Linked DNA regions of Homo sapiens: regions 1, 2, 3 and 4 are each linked to region 5. The links are contacts of gene promoters, found by promoter capture Hi-C in blood cells and fetal thymus (Javierre and others, 2016). All regions are on one chromosome and are shown on one strand. The core of a region is centred on a gene start or on the middle of the fragment in contact, and the rest is flanking DNA. Distances in the headings are between cores, read along the strand shown. Region 1 overlaps MED13L (mediator complex subunit 13L). Region 2 has its middle 4.9 kb from the start of LINC00173. Region 3 has its middle 41 kb from the start of MAP1LC3B2. Region 4 has its middle 60 kb from the start of LINC02463. Region 5 holds the start of MED13L (mediator complex subunit 13L).

Region 1 (2,700 bases), core at 41-2,540, 270 kb after region 5:
GGAATTTGAAACTAGGCAGTCTGTCCTGAGAACCTGTGCTCTTAAGTGGAATTGATGGACCCAGAGACAAAAACATATATTCTTGACAAAGTATGCTAATTTTTATTTAATCATGAATATAAACTGTAAAAGCAAATCACTATATCGGTGAATTTTTAGTTGTTTTTACAAAAAGTTTAAACTTTGTAAATGCTTTAAGGCATAAATGCTCTTTTTTTTTTTTTTTTTTTTGTCTTTTAGACTCTTAGCACAACCTAACAAACGGTTTAAAATCTGGCAAGACAAACAGCCCCAGTTGCAGCCACTCCACTTCCTTGACCCATTGCCTCTATCACAACAACCTGGAGACAGTTTGGGAGAAGTGAATGACCCATATACCTTTGAAGATGGTGACATAAAATACATCTTTACAGCCAACAAGAAATGCAAACAAGGGACGGAGAAAGATTCCCTGAAAAAGAATAAGGTACCATTTAACAGAGAGAGAGTCCAGCATGGTGTGGGTTTCTATCTATGTCAGTACAACATGTGTGGGAAGACTTTGGAGGCAGAACGTTTGAGATAGTCTTGCCTGATTGCTCTGTCCCCATATTCATGCTCTTGGTACTATTGTATTGAACAGCGTATTGTTCCTTTTTATGTCATGGCTCACCTTTGTTTAAAAGTCAGCCGAACATAAATGAAGCCTCATATTTTCCAGGCTATAGCTTGTACAGTGCATGTTTTCTCTCATATGCTAATTCTTGTTGGCCTATGCTCCCTATTTCTTTTAAAATATTATTCCGAACTACCCAAAATGTAAAGGAAAAAATGTTTGTAACAGTAGGTATACACAATTTATCGAGCGCTTCTTATCCTTACTGTGCTGAGCGCTGTACCTATATATTCTCTGGGTTAATATCAACTCTACCCATAGACTATCAGTATTAATTTTACTGGTTTCATCATCATAAAAATGAGTACTGGTTGTGTCTGCTGTCTTTAATTTCAAATTTTCAGACATTCTAAAATATGGGCCATTGAAATAGGTATTCTTGAGAATCAAGGAAATAAAACAATTATAAGAGGCCGGTATAGTTAGGGGAATGCTTTTTAGATTGTTTTATACAGATCTCCCTAGACCCAGAAAGCCAAATCTATAATTTAGCATCTAAAATGTTGTTAAAGGCAGCTTTTAACACCATGGCAGGTCTGTAATCAAATGCCACCAGTACTGCTTAGGCATAAAACACTGATTCACTCAGAATACCCCATAGGATTGAGGGGAAAGTGGGGAGCTCATGGTTCTGTTGAAATTCCAGAGAAAGGACCTATCTTTTACTTCCTTTGGTTGCATAGACCATGGTTTATCATACTTGTGCTCATAACAAGTTCCATTCTACCCTCTAATTCTTTGTGTTCTCCCTCATATTTCACACTTTGGGTTGGTGTTCATGTGTTTTGTTTGGCTGAATTTATTATACAGTCAGAGGATGGATTTGGTACCAAGGATGTCACTACACCAGGTCATTCCACGCCGGTGCCTGATGGGAAAAATGCCATGTCTATTTTCAGTTCTGCTACTAAAACAGGTGTGTACAATGATTATTTGCCTCACTTGGATTGTTGCTAAAATGAAATGCAAAGGAGATGCTTCTCAATGTAAAATTTTATTCTTATTGTAATAAGAATTTCATCTCATCTTTAATATATTTTTCATAGTTTGTTTTTCAGTTCCTTTCAAAACTGATAAACATATTTGGAAATAATTGTCTCTAAATTTAACTAAAACCATAGGGAAAAACTCACAGGCAGGTCATGTTCATTGAGATCCGTGTCCTCTCCCTACTCCTTTGCGCTTGGTGGAGTTGTTTATTCTGTGTCTTTTGCCTCCTTTCCTACAGATGTCCGGCAGGATAATGCTGCTGGCAGAGCTGGCTCCAGTAGCCTTACACAGGTAACAGATTTGGCACCTTCCCTGCATGACTTAGACAACATCTTTGATAATTCTGATGACGACGAACTTGGGGTGAGTTTGCCGTAGCTACATAAACAAAAATTTCGCTACATGAAAGGACTTTATATCAGTGTTGTAGTATTTCTTTATAGTTTGGTGTCCTGAATTTGGGGGCTCTTATTTCAGGTTCTGAATGTTCTTTATAAATGTCTGTATACTGGAATCTAGTCATGCTGTATAAAAAAAGTTTGTATACTTGGAAAAGATTGTAAAGGTTATTAGTGTAGTGTATCCACCTCGAGTTTTGTTCATTGAAGGATCTTTTTCATTAGTGTATTCCAGTTGTACATATTAAAATCTCTCACATTTATTGTAATAAATTCTTCTAAATATCACAGGACTACTAGAAATGTATTACATTGTCCCTTAGGTTTGATTTTTAAAGTAATGCCCACATAACTTTTTATTCATCTAATAAGTCAGAGGTTAGGTATGCAAATATGATTTATACTTTTTAAGATCATGGCATCATTGTAGGGGAATAGAATTTATATACATAGAAGTTAAATACTACAAGGCAGCATACAATTAAAATGACAGAGAAGAATAATTATTATAATTCTTTGGAGATCAGCAGAACTAAGAGTCAGGAAATGTGTGTCCTCATCCTCCTAACCAACTCTGTACCTTTGGGCAAATACAAGTGCCTGTTTTTTCTGGGAGATCTAGAGATGAGTAAGATAGGCTCTGTTTTCAAAAAGGTC
Region 2 (2,700 bases), core at 174-2,673, 260 kb before region 5:
GTTACCTATGAGGATTAGCACTGATCAGTGCAGCAGAAAGCTGTGTTTGAAATGCATTGCAGGGCCTGGTACACAGACACCAGCTTTCCAGACACTCAGAGGACAGAATAGTGGTTTGTAAACATCCTCCTAAACGGAAGCATGACATGGCTTGCTCATGTAAGTTCTCCTGGAATGGTGATGTAAGCTCCCAGGACCAGGAGGGAATAACAGGAATTGGGATGTTTTTCTCCATTCTGGCAGGATCCTACCTACAGGGAGTCCCCAGAGGCTGCCTGCCCTGGGGGCACAGAACCCAGAGACTAGAAAAAAACTGTGCAAAGGTATCCTCTTCCTTCTCTTTTCTGGGAAGCTGCTCCACTTACATGTTAAGGTCTGCATCCTTGGCCAATAAATCAGAAGCCCACAAATCTTGACCCCATCTGCAAGGCCGTGGGTGCAAAGGGCAAGAGATGGGAATCGGGAGGTGTGGTTTCTCAGATCCCCTTGGCACTCATTTGACGTGTTGTCAGTTTCCTGCCTCTTTCTGAGCTATTGTTCCTTAATTTAGGGTAAGTAGACATAGATTCCAGAAAAATTGCTGATTTGCAAGTTTAAAAAATCTGGGGTGTCCTTTGTTTAAATAAAAGTGTACAAGGAAACTGAATCTACAAAGAGACACAAGAATTGCTGGATGGTTGAAATAGAGGAGGGGAATCCCATAGCCACAGGTCACCCAGCCACCTGCTCTCTTCCACTGGCTTCCTCCTTCCCGCACATTTTGAAAACTACTGACTAGAGTGAATTCCTGCAGCAGGGGCGGGGCTGGAGGCACAGGGCAGGATAGAGCATGGAGGAGGGAGGTGGTCCCGGTGGTGGTCTCTAGCAGCATGAAGATGCAGAGGAGCTGCTGTATGGGTCTGCCTGCCCATTAGTGACAGTGTGACACGGGAGTTTAGGACATCAGGTCTTTTTGTCGATTCCTCCTTCTTCTGGTAAGAGCACCCCAGTTTTCTTTGGGGGAACCACTCACTCTTACTGTGTCCAGGTGGTCTGGCTGGGCTTCAGCAGTGACTGGAACCTGGGCACTTAGATCAGTCCATCCCTGTTGCCAGAGTCACTGCTTCAGCAATGGGCAGCTGAATCTATCAGAGCACACTAAACCTAACCCTGGGACTTTTATGGAGGCAACCAGGAAAAAGGCTGGATTTGACTCTGGAAAGATGTAAAACAGGTGAAGTGAGCCAATCTAAACATGAAACCAATACAGGGAAAAGCAAAGCCAAAAAGCTAGAGAGAGGGAAATTCCTAAAGACTTAACTGAGGGCCTGGATCCAGCCATGCCTGAAGCTTATCCAGACCTTGCTTCTCAAATAATACAATGTACATTTTCCATCCGGTTTAAGTTCATCTAAGTCAGGATTTTGTCACTTTGCAACTGAAACCTCATGACCAATACACATGGGCAGTTTATTTAACCTCTTTCAGTTTCCATTTTCTCATTTACCAAGTATCTCTAAAAATCTATATAAAGCTTACCTTCAAGCAGATCTGTACATATACACACATATATCACAGCAGCAATAAGATATTATCAATAGTGGTAACTATTTTGCATATGCATTAGTGTTAAAGAAGGCAAAACAAAGATTGGTTAATATCAGTTCACTTTCTTTTCTAAATGAGAATGGAGGGGGAGTAAAAGTTAAATAAATGTCCATTACCAACGGGAATGGAGGAAACAGGAGGAGGCCACGTGCTGACCAGAAAATGGGGAGGGGTCTGATGGAGGCTGAGGTTCCCACAGTTCTGCAGATGGAGGCTGAGCCCGAGGGAAACCCCTCAGCCCCTATCAGCCCCCAGGTCCTTGAGGCCTGGGAAAACCAGAGGGACAACTGAGATAGATCTGTCTTAGGAGCAGAAGGTTCAGAGGCCCAGACCCTATAAATGTGGGTCATGCCCCAAAGAAGACACTGCAGCTCATGGCCAACTTGATGCATGGGGCCAGATCTTCCCTGGACAGACAAACTGGCCTTTTGTGGCCGAGAGAGCTGTTCCCGGGGATTGCCATCTTGGAAGGCCATTGTGGTCTGCTCAGGAACCCTTGAAATCGAAAGCCCTGCGCTCTCCTTGTCACAGCCGTCGCACATAAATACCACCAGGGGGGATTTCCCATGGAATTTTTTGCAACCACTCAAATGTTTCATTTCCCATTGTTTGCCAGTCCCTCTCAGAGCCTCAACTGTCAAAGCAGCAGCAAACACAGGCTGCTTTTCCCCCAGGATCCCATGGCGCTCGCTCTTGCGTCCCCTCCATGTTGGGAAGCTGGCATTGGCAGGATATCATCAGCTCAGGCCCGGGAATAAGGTCTGTTAGTCAACTAGTGAAGCAAGTCAGCGAAGGGAATACCCGGCCCTGCCCAGCCCATGCTTGCTGGGGAGGCACAGTTCTGTGCAGTCACCCTCGTTATAATTATCATCATGGTGACGAATAATTGCATTTATACAAAGAAATTCCTTCCACACATCTGAAGCACTTGACCAAAAAATACACAATGCAGCATTAATGTTTCACTTTTAGAATATGAACTTGGCCGGGTGCAGTGGCTCACCCGGGTGCAGTGATTAAATGCCTGTAATCCCAGCACTTTGGGAGGCTGAAGTGGGCAGATCACTTGAAGCCAGGAGTTCGAGACCAGTCTGGCCAACATGGCGAAAGCCC
Region 3 (2,700 bases), core at 167-2,666, 320 kb before region 5:
TGAGCTTTGTAGTCCTAGCTGTCAGTTACCCCTCATGGTGTTGCCTGAAGTCTCTTTCTGGATATCTTTCTCCCCTGCTTATGACTCCTCTATGGCTCCCCAGGGCCCACTGAACTGGATTGAAACACCTCTCTACAGTGCCTAAGTTGGCCTGAGTCTTGCTTCCTGATCCACCTCCCTCTAGCTGTGAGTCACCCCAATTAGTCACCATGCCTGAGACCCACCATGCACTTTCCTATGCCCTTTGGGTTGGAAAAAGAGCTTTTCTAGAGAGGAAACCCACTCTTGGAGTGTGCTCAACTTGTGCCAGTAGTGAAGGAGTTAATTTGCCTAGGGTTTGTATTGTCAGACTCACCAGATGTTGCTGCCAGTGAGTTGGGGCTCAGATATGACTACCACTTGGTGTCAGGAGGGACACCATTTGTTCCAGAGAGCCCCAGGCACCCGTTCAGGGAAGGGCAAAGCCACCAGACACATGGAACCACCCTAAAAGAAAATAAAGACTCCCTTCCTTCCTTTACTCTTTATTTTTAAATTTTATTTTTAAAAAAGTATTTTTCTATGTAGAGAGAGATCTCACTATGTTGCCCAGGCTGGTCTAAAACTCCTGGACTCAAGCGATCCTCCCACTTTGTCCTCCCAAGTTCCGGATTACAGGCATGAGCCCACCATGCCCAGCCTACTCTTTAAACTTTTCAAAGCAGCTTCACATACATGCCTCAACAGATCCCCTCCATATCTCTGAGCAACAGGTAAGATGAATGTCGTGCCCATTTGACAGGTGGGAAAACTGAGGTGCCGATCAGAGAGTCTTATCCTCAATAAAGAAAGGTTTCTGGATGGGGAAGAGCAGGCACAGGGGTATTTCATGTCTCATAGCAAGTTGGTGGCTGAAATGGAACTAAGCAAAGTCTTCTGACCTATTTTCTATGAGGTTTTCATTCATTTGTTTTTCAGATATTCATTAAATGCTTATATGTCAGACACTGTGGTCATCTCATAATAATGATTATAGCTAGAGTTGTCTCTACAATCCTACACTTTCTACCTACAAGTCCCATTGCTAAATTATTTACGTGCCCTCTCTCATTTCAATGCGCGACAGCCACCCTTTGAGGTATGATTACTATTACTATCCCCAGACACAAGTAAGGACACTGAGCTTGCCCAAGGTCACTTAGCTCCTGAGCGGGTGCTGGGGTGTAAGGACTTCAAGCCTGTGCTCCTTTACTGCTTTGCTGAGGCTTGTTATCTGCACTGGGGTGGCCTACCCTCTTGAAGCTTACTCTTTTTTTTGAGACAGAGAATCTTGCTCTGTTGACCAGGCTAGAGTGCAGTGGTACACGGCTCACTACCATCTCCACCTCCTGGTTCAAGCGATTCTCCTGCCTCAGCCTCCCGAGTAGCTGGGATTACAGGTGTGCACCACCATGCCTGGCTAATTTTTGTATTTTTAGTAGAGATGGAGTTTTTCCATGTTGGCCAGGCTGGTCTCAAACTCCTGACCTCAGATGATCTGCCCGCCTTGGCCTCCCAAAGTGCTGAAGCTTACATTCTTATAAGGAGATAAATATACCAGTTTTCTGAGGTCTGGCCTTCACCTCTAAGACCCTCCAAGCTATTCCTTCCCAATAAGGAATATTCCAAATAGGAGAGAAAGGATGCAGACGTTGATTAAGCCCCTTCCATGGGCCAGGCACACGCATATCCATTTTCCATACCACCTAGCAAATTGGCTACAGAGGGTACTGAAGAAATCAAGGCTCATTGGGTTGACATGGTTGTTCAAAGCTGGCATACTTGGTTTTCAGGGAGTGGAGACCTGGCCTTGGATGGTGATGCCATCTGACTTGCCTTTTCTGCCAGCCAGCTCTGGCTCTCCTGGAGGACAAGTGACGGGGGAAGAGTTTGCCATGAGTCTTTAGGTCACGTAACTACGGAAGCAGTTCTCTTGAGGCTTGATACGTGATCTTTATACAAACCCTCCTCGGGACAGGAGCCAGAAAGTCACTCTCCCACCCATTTTGGGACAAGGGAGGTGGGGGGAGGACCCAAGACCGGATCCCGGCAGAGTCCCGCTGCCCACGACAGGCAGCAGGTGGCGCCATGGCCCCGGTTTAACAAGGACACCGGGAAGGTGGAAAGGGTGGGTGGGTGGGGCGGGGTGGGGGGCGTGGGGGTTGCGGTTGGACTCCAGAAAGAAAAACTAGTGGAAAACAAGGCTTTAAAAGAAGAACAATTTGTTCCAAAACACTTGCCTTGTAACGGGGTCATCTATAAATTCTGGGATTTCCTGTTGGCCTCGGGGAGGGCAGGCAGGCCGGCCGGCGGGCAGGCCACTGTCTTCTCTGCAGTCTGGAAGAATCATTTCCAGCCCAGCTCACGAGCTCCAGCCTCCCCTGGCCCAGATTGGCTCTGAAATTTCCCAGCTTTCGTGCCCGTAAGCAGGATCCTGTGACAGCAGCGTCTCCTTGAGCGGTGCTCCAGTTTCCACTGGGTTGGGAGGAGGCGTGAGATCATGGTCATTTTTTAAAGGAGAGGCTGTCTTCGTGATCTCCCTGTTCCGTCTCCACCATCGGACTTGTTCCAAAACAATCAAAGACGTGGAAACAATAAAATGAAAGAGATGGAAGTAGCCCTTTTAAAAAGAAGACAGCTGTTCCTGTCAATACGGGGACGGAAAAGAGAAAAAGAGTTGGA
Region 4 (2,700 bases), core at 166-2,665, 330 kb after region 5:
TTTGTAGTTATTTGGTCTCTCAACTTGGGTTAGTCTGATATTTTCTAGTGGTGAAATTGTGGTTATGCATCTTGGGACAAGAACACCATGGAAGTGACAACGTCCTTCCCAATGCATTAGTGTTGGGAGGGTTCGAGATGTCATCGTATCATCTTACAGATGACATTAACCTTGAACCCTTGGTTAAGGCTGCGTCTTCTGGATTTCTCCACCGAAAAGTTATTTCCCTCGCAAATATTTTGGAATGAATAAATTCTAGGAAATACCGCAGAAGCTCAGATACATATTTGTTATGTCCTAGATTTTCCACCAGGGGACGATGTTCACTGACAAATCTTAATGGGCAAAAGTCAAGGGATTTGAAAGCAGGGGGCCAAGGCCCTGGGGGGCTGGTCTGAGTCCACTCTCCCAGGGCAGCCCTCGTTTAGGTGAAGAGCCCCAGGGGACAGATTCCCGGTTGGGCATAGGTGCCAGGTGTAGGGGTGGCTGAGAAGAGCAATCTGGCTTGGCAAATTTATAGTGCATAGAAGACTGAGCTAAGAGGCTGGTAGCTGCTGGGGGGTGGGGGGTCTGCGCGCACGTGTGTATGCACACATGTGCATGTGTGTGTGCACGTGTATGTGTGTGAGGAGGAGAAGCTTTAATGTTGTTACATTCAATACCTTGGCGTTCATTAGACTTGAAGAAGCCAAAGCAAATATCCTTCCTATGGTGCCTCCCTGCCCCTGTAAACCCCCACAGACACCTCGGGAAAGGCCCGTGGGCCCCGGGCAGAAGGGGACCTGCATGTGAAATGGCTCCTGGTAGCCTCAGAGATTTTAGGCTTGGAGCAGACCCAGGGCATTGGAGATATCATTTCTACTTAATTAAATTTTAATCCAATAGGATGTTTAGAAATAATACAGACTGCAAAAGGGCATGAGGGAACTTAGTAGAGTGAGAGGAACATCTCTGTTTTAGTTGGTGGTGTTATATTTGTCAAAGCACAGGGAATTATCCATTTAAAATGGGTGCATTTAAAAAATAATTCAATTGTGGTAAAAATACACATAATGTGAAATGTACCATCTTAACCACTTTTAAGTGTACAACTCAGTAGGGTTGAGCAGCTCCACAGTGCCGTGCAAACAATCTCCAGAACCTCTTCCTCTTGCAAAACAAACCCTGTGCCCATCAAACGCTAACTCCCCAGTCGCTGACACCACTATTCTTTCTGTCTCTGTGATCTTGACTCCTCTAGGCACCTCCTATGAATGGAATCACGCAGTATTTGTCCTTTTGTGACCAGCTTATTTCACTTGGCATAATGTCTTCGAGTTCACCCCTGTGTAGCAGGTGCCAGAATTTCCCTCCTTTTCTAGGTGGAACCACACTCCATTGCATGTATATACCAGATTTTGTTGATCCCTTCAGGCTTCAGTGGACACTGGCTTGCCTCCACCTTTTGGGTATCGTGACTAATGCTAAAATGGACATGGCCGTACACATTTTGGAATTGTTAGATCACAGAGTAATTCTGTTTTTAATTGTTTGAGGAAGCGCCATGCTGCTTTTCACAGTGGCTGCACCACAATGGTGCATTTTTTTAAAGAATAGAAATGACTTTAAAAAGAGCACATTTGATAGCTCCTGTGGCGTTGTGGGGGAAGGTGTCTTTTCTTCCTTCCCAGTTCATGAGGGCAGGGCTTCTAAATATTCTTCCTAGGTCCATGTAGCTCCAGACTCATTTCTGGCTCTAATTTTGCCCCCTGAAACCAACAGGAAGATTAATAGGCATTTGTTAATAGCTCCCAGGCCTACAGGCCCCCAAACAAAAACAAACATCCCCGTCCTGGGCCAGCCCCACACATCTGCCCCACTCTACCTCCTGACTTGTGGACGTTTTTGGAATTGGGCATCTCGGTTGGATGTGGCCTTCTAGACATCTGGCAGTGAAACCCTGGCACGCTGGGCACTCTGGCTTCCTGGTCCCTTTCCATCCCAGGAGGAAGACAGTGATTTACAGGAGCAGTGCTGGCCTTCCTGAGGATTTGACTCAAGTAAAAGCCTCCAGGGGCCTGAACTGTCCTGAGATTTTTAATTGGGTTGCTGGAGAGATATTCTTGCCTTCTTCCCTTCTGTATTAGTCTGTTCTCACGCTGCTAATAAAGACATACCCGAGGCTGGGTAATTTATCAAGGGGAGAAGCTTAGTGGACTCACAGTTCCACGTGGCTGGGGAGGCCTCACAATCATGGCGGAAGGCAAACGAGGAGCAAAGTCACGGCAAGAGCGTGCAAGTGTGCAGGGGAACCCCCTTTATAAAACCATCAGATCTCGTGAGACTTACTCACTATCGCAAGAACAGCACCGGAAAGACCCGCCCCCGTGATTCAATTACCTCCCACCGGGTCCCACGTATGAAGTATGGGGATTATGGGAGCCACAATTCAAGATGAGATTTGGGTGGCGACACAGCCAAACGCTATCAGCTTCCAAGTAAAGAAGCCTCCACGTCCCTTCAAGTCCTAGGCATAGAAGCCTGACAGGTCACTTGTTCCAGAGCCGGTTGCAAAACTGAGCAAGCAGGGAGATTTCTCTGGTAAGGCCTCTGTAGCTTGTGAAGGCTTCTGAGCTGAGGCCAGATCGGCTCTTTCCTCATCTGTATTCCTGACCTTTCCATCTGCCTGTGGGCGTCCACGATGTCGGGGAAAGCAGCAAT
Region 5 (2,700 bases), core at 12-2,511:
TGCCTCCAGGGCTCAAGTTATCCTCCCACCTCAGCCTTTCGAGTAGCTAGGGCTACAGGCACATGCCACACTACGCCTGGCTAATTTTTGTATTTTTGTATTTTATTTTTTTTGTCATGACGGGGGTTCTTGCTACATTGCTCAGGCTGGTCTTAAACCTCGGCTAGGATTACCGGCGTGAGCCACTGTGCCAGCCATCCACTCTTCCTCTTTTAGCTTAATCTACCTGAAACAGCTGATTGTTCCATGTTTGGAGGCGTATTAGTGAAGACATTGTTTTCTCCTCCCCCTTTTCGGGGATCCATTTCTTGAGGACTGGGAGAGCTTCTCTTCATAGCAGCACTCCTCCGGACTCCCAGGCCATATACACTCAGGAAATGTTGGTTATCCAATGAATGACGCCAGGAAGAAGGGTCTGCTCCCAACACGGCCTTAGCACAGTGCCTGGAAGTTATAACAGATTCTGGCACACAGCAGGAGCTCAGGAAACATTTATGTAATGAATGAATGAATGAATGAATGAGTGCACACAGTAACTAGGAGTAAGGGCTCAATAAACATTTCTGTATTAAACGCACAGTGTCTGGAACACAGTAAGCGCTCCGTCTATGGCAGCCGTGAATATCCCTGGGCGAAGCCTGTGAAACCTTGTCCAAGAGCTTGGCTTCACTGTGCGCGGGTTCGAATCTGGACTCCTCTTCCCAAGTGTGCGACCTCGGGCAAGTGATTTAATCCCTTTGTGCTTTAGTTTTCTCCTCTGCAAAAGGCGGACGGCGGCGCGAGCCTCTGAGGACACATTCCCCAGGGCACTCGGACCCGCTGCCTGGCCCACATCGCGGCCGCCGCGCCACGCCAGCCGGCCTGGGCTGCGAGGGCACAGGCCGGGGGTCCCGCGCCCTCCTCCGCGGCCACCACGGGCGCGCCCGGGACCCACGGTCCCGCCCCGCCACGATCAGTGCACCGCGAGGGGGCGGGGCGGCCACGAGGGGCAGCCCACGGCAGCCACGGGCCGGCAGTCCGCCGCCCGCCGGGGAGCCCGGCCGCCCGCACTTCTTTCTCTCCCTCTCTGCCTCCCTCCCTCCCTCTTCCCGGCCGGAGGACCCGGCCGCGCTCAGCTCAGCAGCGCCTCCCGCGAGCCGCCGCCGCCGCCGCCACTCCGGACCCCTCCCCCGCCCGCCCCTCGCTCCCCCCGCGCGGCCGGCGCCCGTCACGTGACCAAGCGCCAGCCAATGGCGGGCCGAGCCGCGGTCGGCGGCCGCCATTGCTGTCAGAGCAAGCGAGCCCGGGGAGGGAGGAGAAGCGAGGCTGACTGGGGAGGAGGGGGGGGTGGGGGAGGAAGAGGAAGGAGGGGACGTCGCTCGGCTGCCGGGGTCGCCCGCTGGCTTCGTCCGCACCCCCCCCTTCGCGAGTTCGCGCTCCGCGGCGGCGGCGGCTCCGAGGCGGCGGCGGCGGCTCCGGGGCTCGCCTCCCCTCGCGCGCCGGCGGGGGCCGAGGGGGAGTCGGTGGCTGGAGATAAACAAGGCGGCGGCAGCGGCAGCAGCGGCGGCGGCGGCGGCTGAGGAGCAGGGAAGGCGGAGGCGGTGGCCGGCCCGCAGCGCCGGCCCGGGGCGCGCGCCCCCCCCGCCAGCCCGGGCCCGCTGCCCCCGGCGCGGCGTCGCCGCGGCGCCTCCCGCCTGCCCGCCGGCCCTCGCGCCCTCCCCCGGCGGCGGCGGCGGCCCGGCCGCCCCGCGCTCCCCGGCGAGGCGCCGCCGCCCGGCCCGGCCTCGCCTCGGACGCCTCGCTCCGACATGCCCCGCTCTGGCGGCCGGGCTCGCGGAGGATCATGACTGCGGCAGCGAACTGGGTGGCGAACGGGGCGAGCCTGGAGGATTGTCACTCCAACCTCTTTTCGCTGGTGAGTAGCCGGGCTGCGGGGAGGGGGCTGTGCCGGGGAAGGGGGGGGGTCCCCGACCTCCGCCGCCGACCAACTTTCTCCTCCCGCCGCCGGGACTTCGCCCCTCCCTCGCGTCTCCCCGCCGTTCGCCTCTCGCCGATTCTCCCCCTTTTGGATCGTCTCTCTCTCGCCTTGGATCCCATCCAGTGTTTATTTGGCTCTTTAAAAATCATTTGTGAGCGCGGCGCTCGGCGTGGAATTTGCATGTGGAAGTCTCGGAGCTGCGGATTCTGGGTCGCACTTCGAACGCCCACCCTCTGTTGCAATCGCACTCCCCTTCTCCTCCCCTTTCCCCCCTTTTTTTCCCCCCGTAAATGTGGAAGGCTTTGCCTTGTGCTGCCGCGCCTCCGATCGGCAACCTCTTCCCCCGTTGTTGGATCAGCTGCCTGCCCGCCCGCCTGCCTTTTGAATTTTTTTAAATTCCATAATGACACCTGCAATTTCGCCCTAAAATAGTTGATTGAATGCGATTGTGTCAGGAAAGGACTCTTGCACCCGAAGCTCCCGCGATTGTAAACATCGACAGCCGCCTGCCTCTCGGGGCTTACTATGCTGGAGAGCCGTAAAGCCATTGCACCGAGCCGACGGAAGGTGGAGAAAGCTTTTTCTTCTTTCTCTCCTCCTGTGTCTTTTAAAAACTGTTTTTCTCTATCCTAACAACGAATCCGCACACACACACACACACACACACACACACACACACACACACACAAAAGCAACAAGCTGGTCGGTTTGATAACATCGCTTTTATCTGCCTTCGCCTCTCT

The links. The method cuts DNA at HindIII sites, captures the fragments that hold promoters and counts their contacts. A CHiCAGO score of 5 or more calls a contact.
Region 1: a fragment that was not itself captured here is called in contact with the fragment with the promoter of MED13L in region 5 in 15 of 17 cell types (megakaryocytes, M2 macrophages, non-activated CD4 T cells and 12 more); the score reaches 11.8 in megakaryocytes.
Region 2: a contact is called between a fragment that was not itself captured here and the fragment with the promoter of MED13L in region 5, in 17 of 17 cell types (total B cells, monocytes, naive B cells and 14 more). The highest score is 31.1, in total B cells.
Region 3: a contact is called between a fragment that was not itself captured here and the fragment with the promoter of MED13L in region 5, in 17 of 17 cell types (monocytes, naive B cells, megakaryocytes and 14 more). The highest score is 23.3, in monocytes.
Region 4: a contact is called between a fragment that was not itself captured here and the fragment with the promoter of MED13L in region 5, in 1 of 17 cell types (neutrophils). The highest score is 5.1, in neutrophils.

Annotation. Positions count from the first base shown.
Region 1 is chr12:116,005,177-116,007,876 of GRCh38, reverse strand. It overlaps MED13L (mediator complex subunit 13L), which reads left to right. Exons shown (of 31, transcript NM_015335.5): 11 at 241-466; 12 at 1,466-1,571; 13 at 1,884-2,008. Among named protein-coding and RNA genes, the nearest start is that of LINC02463, 120 kb to the right of the region's middle. The HindIII fragment of the contact is 5,074 bases long and covers 1-2,700 here.
Region 2 is chr12:116,536,944-116,539,643 of GRCh38, reverse strand. No RefSeq gene overlaps it. Among named protein-coding and RNA genes, the nearest start is that of LINC00173, 4.9 kb to the right of the region's middle. RefSeq lists an enhancer at 2,030-2,259. The HindIII fragment of the contact is 184 bases long and covers 1,332-1,515 here.
Region 3 is chr12:116,599,226-116,601,925 of GRCh38, reverse strand. No RefSeq gene overlaps it. Among named protein-coding and RNA genes, the nearest start is that of MAP1LC3B2, 41 kb to the right of the region's middle. The HindIII fragment of the contact is 266 bases long and covers 1,284-1,549 here.
Region 4 is chr12:115,944,931-115,947,630 of GRCh38, reverse strand. No RefSeq gene overlaps it. Among named protein-coding and RNA genes, the nearest start is that of LINC02463, 60 kb to the right of the region's middle. The HindIII fragment of the contact is 1,549 bases long and covers 641-2,189 here.
Region 5 is chr12:116,276,254-116,278,953 of GRCh38, reverse strand. MED13L (mediator complex subunit 13L) reads left to right here and starts at 1,261. Exons shown (of 31, transcript NM_015335.5): 1 at 1,261-1,894. The coding sequence starts at 1,823. RefSeq lists silencers at 853-912, 963-1,432. The HindIII fragment of the contact is 4,130 bases long and covers 1-2,536 here.